Regions from separate parts of the Homo sapiens genome. Here region 1 is linked to region 2. The links are contacts of gene promoters, found by promoter capture Hi-C in human tissues and cell types (Jung and others, 2019). All regions are on one chromosome and are shown on one strand. The core of a region is centred on a gene start or on the middle of the fragment in contact, and the rest is flanking DNA. Distances in the headings are between cores, read along the strand shown.

The links. The method cuts DNA at HindIII sites, captures the fragments that hold promoters and counts their contacts. A contact is called where the count stands out against the background at its distance.
Region 1: a contact is called between a fragment that was not itself captured here and the fragment with the promoter of EMC7 in region 2, in 1 of the 25 tissues and cell types used here (lymphoblastoid cells).

What each region holds. Positions count from the first base shown.
Region 1 is chr15:34,575,652-34,578,825 of GRCh38, forward strand. All of the region lies in intron 1 of GOLGA8B (golgin A8 family member B), which reads right to left. Among named protein-coding and RNA genes, the nearest start is that of GOLGA8B, 6.4 kb to the right of the region's middle. The HindIII fragment of the contact is 3,792 bases long and covers 1-3,174 here.
Region 2 is chr15:34,100,243-34,103,381 of GRCh38, forward strand. It overlaps EMC7 (ER membrane protein complex subunit 7), which reads right to left and starts at 1,620. Exons shown (of 5, transcript NM_020154.3): 1 at 1,362-1,620. The coding sequence starts at 1,597. PGBD4 (piggyBac transposable element derived 4) reads left to right here and starts at 1,841. Exons shown (of 1, transcript NM_152595.5): 1 at 1,841-3,139. The coding sequence starts at 2,290. RefSeq lists enhancers at 764-1,621, 1,231-1,930, 1,961-2,050. The HindIII fragment of the contact is 11,801 bases long and covers 1-3,139 here.

The DNA.
Region 1 (3,174 bases), core at 143-2,642, 480 kb after region 2:
AGGGCTCTTCTGGCCTGGGCTCTGAAGGGGCAAACCCACCCACTCTTCTAGGATGGGGTCCATGATCCACCCCAACCTACCGTGGGGCTCTCACATCTTCCAGATTGTGCCTCTCTAGGAGGGCCTTGGACCCAGAGCCAGAATGGGGCTCTGATGCCATTGCACATTCTCCAGCAACCCCTTCCATGCCCTCCCTCCTGATCCCACCCAGCTCTAAACTGGGAACAAGAAAGCTGGAATATAGTAGCTGCTTGGAAAATACCTACTGAGTGCATGGGTGGATAGATGGACAGTGCTCCAGGCAAAGGGACTCGGGGGTAAGAAAAGTGAAGGGTACCTGCTCCCGGTTGTACCACTGCAGAGTCCCTGAGTGTCAAAGGACTGAGAGGTGAATGACGGGACGGGCAAGGTGAGACCTACCAGGTTAGCGTCCCGCACCCCTTTGTTTCCACTATTAGATTAAGCCACCCTATGTGATGGATAAAAGGAGCAACACATACAAGGAGTTAGGCCAGGGTTGCCAAAGTGAGGGGTGGGAATGCTGCCAGTCCAGGGGTCCCCCACGGCAGCTCCCCAAATGAAGTCAAGACAAGTTGGAGATGAGGCTGCCTCTAGGTGTATCAAATCAACTGAAGTAGCACCAGTCCTCAGTGCTGATTAAGCACAGGCACGCCTGTGATCAAGAAGAAAACCATTACTTAATAAAATGCAATTAATTTAGAAGCTGAAAACTGCGAAAGCCCAAGGGAAAGACACAATCAGGAGTTCTTGGTCTGGAGGGGCTTCTGCTCTCAAAGCTTCCAACCCAACACAGCACAAAGACGTCTTCCCCAACAACCACACATCCCACCTGCAAAACGATGACATGCTCCTCTCCAGGTACCTGAACCTTAGGACTCAAAGGGTAGAGAAAGTTCACAGGCAGAATCTTCACAATACATGCACAAAAGAAAGGCACTTCTAGTAGGAGCTGTGGGTCAGGAAAACCTCGATTTCACCCAATGCCATTCCCGAGAGAATCAACCATCAATGTGACCCATTCAGTCCTGCCTCAGGGGCTCAGAATCTAGCAGTCAGGCCAGGTGGGAAGTGCAGGGACCTGTGGCCAAAATCGGTCCATTCATCACTCAGCTGACAGCTTTCACGCGTACCAGCCAGAATCAGTTAGAGGCTGGAGGTAGTGCCAAGTGTCTGAAACCCAGCAGGCAGGTTGGTAAAACACTCACACATCCTAACCCTGGTGACTGCACTGACTGACTGCTTTCCTGTAGCAGAACAGTTGCACACATCTCATCTCCTCCATCCATAATAACTCAGTGGCTGGTGAGGAATGGGACACAGACCTCCACGTGCCCTTCTTGGGATGAGTCAAGACAAACTCTGAGCAGTGACGCTCTACAGCTGGCTCACACGTGCAGGCAGAGCCTGGCTTCCCAGAGCTTCCAGTTCCTAACACATGCCTGGCCCCACTGCACCACACCCGTGACAGCTGCCACCAGCTCCGGATAATTCAGACAGATGCTAGAGCACATGGCTCACTTATTACACCAAAAGACTGAGAAACAGAAACTGTGTTTTAATTGCACAATGCACACACTTGCTTCCAGAGAGACCTGAGAAATCCATCATCCCTAAATGCATGCGGTTACTCAACTAGTGGCTTTACTATTTTTGAAACAATAGATTTTTCCAAGACAGCTGATAATCAAACCAACTGCGGGAAACCATAAACGATACTTGTTTATTAAATTAAGAACACATACAACAGTTCAGAGGAATCCATATTTAGAGCTGCCTTGCTGGAGAATCAATTCCAGGAATGCCAAACCAACCAAATGAAAAAAATTATATATCATACACACACACACACACACACACACACACACACACACACACACACACACACACAGATGCGTCACTTAATGACAGGGATGTATTCTGAGAAATTTATCATTAGGCAATTTCATCATTATGAGAACATCATAGAGCATACATTATACAAACCTACTACAACACACTAGGTTATAGGGTACAGCCTACTGCTCCTAGGCTGCAAACCTAGGCAGCATGTTACTGTGCTGAAGGTGTGTATCTAAACATAGAAAAGGCACAAAGTTAAAATATGCTATAAAAGATAAAACATGGTGCCCCTGTCTAGGGCACTTTCTATGAATGGACCTTCCATGAATGGAAGTTGCTCCGGTGAGTCAGTCTGTACACTAGTGCAGACTTTATAAACATTGTACAGTTAGGCTACATTTTTTTAAAAAATAAAGTAACTGCACTACAACTTTACGACAATGTCACTAGGCAATAGGAATTTTTGAGCCCCATGATATTCTTATGGGACCTCTGTCATATACGCTATCACTCACAAAAACAATGTCATGTGATGCATGACAGTACATATGTATCTCAACTGAAAATCCTAAATGTCAGTAGTGTTCTCTGACTCACTATTTACTAGTAAGTTTCCTCAGAACTGTCTTTGCCTGAGAGTTTCACAACCAAGCGTCTCTCTGCACAGTTGATTCTAGGGACAAGAAGTGCTAAGAATCCATGTTGGCTTCAAGTGCAAAATGGAAAACACCTTAGTGTCCCACCAACCATGTTAGCCACCTTCCTGGAGGGCAAGCTCCCACGCCCTTTCCCCATCGCTGTGAAGAGCTCACGTCATCTGTGGCATTTCCATAACTCTCCGATGCCAGCCATCAGTCTCTCAGCACGTGTTGAAAATTAGCCCCTGTACTTGCCCACCAATGGTCATAAGTCCTAGTCATGCCCACCCCGTTAAAAACAAATCTGATACAAAATGGGCCCCAGCAGGAGACAGAGAGAAAACATGGGCCTCACACTCTCTCCAGCTCAGGCTCAAAGGCCAGCACTGCCCCGTCACAGCAGAGTGCTCTTAGGCAACCCATAGCTCAGCTACCTGTCCCCAGCCTCCTCGTCGCGAAGTTAAGACAAGACCTGCCTTCTGGATTTGTAGGGAAATTATTTAAAATGACAAACAAAGAGGGATGGAACTCAACACACAGAATTGCCCGATGATGCGTGTTTCATTCCAGTGGTTTCGCCATGAAAACCATCTTTAAATGTTGGAGTGTTTCCGTTTCCAGACAACTAGAGATGAAAATATTTCCACAGTCACTCAACGCAGGTATCTCAACCACA
Region 2 (3,139 bases), core at 370-2,869:
AGACAGGAGGATCACTTGAGTACAGAAGTTCGAAGCTGCCATGAACTATGATCTCGCCACTGCACTCCAGGCTGAGTAACAGAAAAAGACCTTGTCTCAAAAAAATAAAAAGAAAGATACAATGAAACATTAAGGGTTGTTTTCCTACTTTGTTTCTAATATACTATTTTTAAACAGAAATTAAATGCTTTTTAAAAGAACTGTATACAGAAGAGTGGCCAAATGGTCAATTAAGGCTTATTCCTAAAGCTTAATGAGAACTTTATCATTAAAACATCATTAATTAGGGTAAACTCTAACGAATGCCCTAATGCCAGATTCTTAATGACAGACAGCAGTAAAATACTGGTTGTAAATTTGTCACTATTTATTAATCTGAGGTTGAATAACCACTCAAGGGCACTTAGATGATCTGAACAAATATGTAAATCAGATTTGGATTTAAATGTCTACATTTAAGTTGTCTGATTTTCAGATACCATTTGCTGGTGTACGAACCCACCAAAGGAAATACTTCCTAATTATTTGCTTTCAGTTTACAGTTTCACCTCCAAGTAAGGGTGGAAAGATTTAAAACAACATACGCGTGCCTAGACATTTCAAAAGCAGGCTGCTGCAAAACTAGTGCTAACAAATTCATCCTGTCTTTTAATATAGACAGAAAACCCACTTCCACTAATAGCATGAAAGGACAGAAGCAAGAAAGCAATGTAGAGGAACCCTAGTCTCACATAAATGACAAGTGTGATATAGCAAATCTCTCGATGAATTCAACTGTAAAAAAGAACAACGATCCCACCCCCAAGCAAAAAAAAAAAGAAAAAAAAAGTGCTTTGATTAGGGATTTCAGAGCCTATTAATTTTAGAAGCAGTAACATTAGCCTCCCAGTCTATGTCGTCACTAGAAGCCCTTTGGGTTTTGAGAATTCCCACTTGTGTCGCATCTTTCTACATAATAACAAGCTACCAAAAGACTGAAGTGAATGCAAAAAACGACTAGGTTCTAGGGAAACCAGATGAGATATAAAAGAATCCAACAAGAGACTAATAAGGGTCCACCTGTCCCCAGGGCCCAGGAATGATCGTCCCCACATGGGGCCAAAATAAGGTTGGAAATAACTGACTCCATGCTCTGACCATGGCAGGGGGTGAGCGCCTGCCATGCTCATTCCAGAGGTACAGGACCAGGAAAGGGAAAGCATCCGACTGCCTCCCAAGGTCTCCCGGCATAGACCGTTAGCGGCACCCTCCCCTTCAGTCTGAGACAGCGACGTTGTCCCGTCCTGACACTTAACTCTCCTGGTGGGGTCCCTGTCCGGCCTCCATCCCAGCCTTTTTCCCGCTGCCCTCAGGATGCTCACTTAAGGAAACCGACGTGCTCTTCTCCGTCTACCAGCACTCGGGCCGCCGAGATCCAGTCCTGAGGCTTCACCCCTGGAACAACTGCACGCCCCTCAATCTTGAAGCGATCTCCTATGCCGACCCCACTCCCTCCCGATCCCTCAGCAGCAGCCCCGGGCACCTCCGAGCTCTGGACATCCCCCGATAGCAGCAGCAGCAGCAGGACGGGAAAGAAGCCCCACAGAGCGGCCGCCATGACAGCAGCTCTGCACTCAGACCGGCAGCCCCGGAAGCCCTCCCAGTCTCCCGGCCGCCACCGCCGCCGCTGGCGGCTTGATGTTGTCATCACTGCGCGCCCGTTTCTGTCATAAGCTGTGGGATCCAACCAGAGGGAAGAGATCATGGCCGATCGACTAGCGAGGCGGAAGTAAGGCGGAAGTACTGCCCTTAACTCCCGGCACTCTGGATTGGAAGACGGCGCACAGAGCCTGTGTCAAGTGCCTATGAAGGGGACTGCCCATGAAGTGAAAGTCAAGTGTGTGTTGCTGCGGCAGCCACGGAGGCCAAGGACCTCACGGGAGTAAAAGATGACGAGACTGGCTTCGGGAGAAACACCATCCAGAAGAGACCTTTCAAAAAACTTCTAGAGACTCCCCAAGACGTATGAGATGAAAGGCTTCTTCTGTCTGTGTGCGTTTAACTCATTTCTCCTTAGCCCCGAGATTACGCGCTGCTGTGCCTGCGACTGCAGCGTTTACGCCGAGATAACTCGTGGATTACAGTGCCAACCTTACTCCCAAAGTTTGCCACGAAATATCTCGCTTCTGTTATTTTCGCATGGTTCTGGTATATTGACTTTTGAAACAAAAGACATCATTCTGTTTATAGCATTCTGTTTTTAGTAGTGGGATTTCCATCTACAAAATATAGTAATTCTCGATCGCTGAAATGTCAAATCCTAGAAAACGTAGCATTCCTATGCGTGATAGTAATACCGGTCTCGAACAGTTGTTGGCTGAAGATTCATTTGATGAATCTGATTTTTCGGAAATAGATGATTCTGATAATTTTTCGGATAGTGCTTTAGAAGCCGATAAGATCAGGCCTCTGTCCCATTTAGAATCTGATGGAAAGAGCTCTACATCAAGTGACTCAGGGCGCTCCATGAAATGGTCAGCTCGTGCTATGATTCCACGTCAAAGGTATGACTTTACCGGCACACCTGGCAGAAAAGTCGATGTCAGTGATATCACTGACCCATTGCAGTATTTTGAACTGTTCTTTACTGAGGAATTAGTTTCAAAAATTACTAGAGAAACAAATGCCCAAGCTGCCTTGTTGGCTTCAAAGCCACCGGGTCCGAAAGGATTTTCGCGAATGGATAAATGGAAAGACACTGACAATGACGAGCTCAAAGTCTTTTTTGCAGTAATGTTACTGCAAGGTATTGTGCAGAAACCTGAGCTGGAGATGTTTTGGTCAACAAGGCCTCTTTTGGATACACCTTATCTCAGGCAAATTATGACTGGTGAAAGATTTTTACTTTTGTTTCGGTGCCTGCATTTTGTCAACAATTCTTCTATATCTGCTGGTCAATCAAAGGCCCAGATTTCATTGCAGAAGATCAAACCTGTGTTCGACTTTCTTGTAAATAAATTTTCCACTGTATATACTCCAAACAGAAACATTGCAGTTGATGAATCACTGATGCTGTTCAAGGGGCCATTAGCTATGAAGCAGTACCTCCCGACAAAACGAGTACGATTTGGTCTGAAGCTATATGTACTTTGTGAAAGTC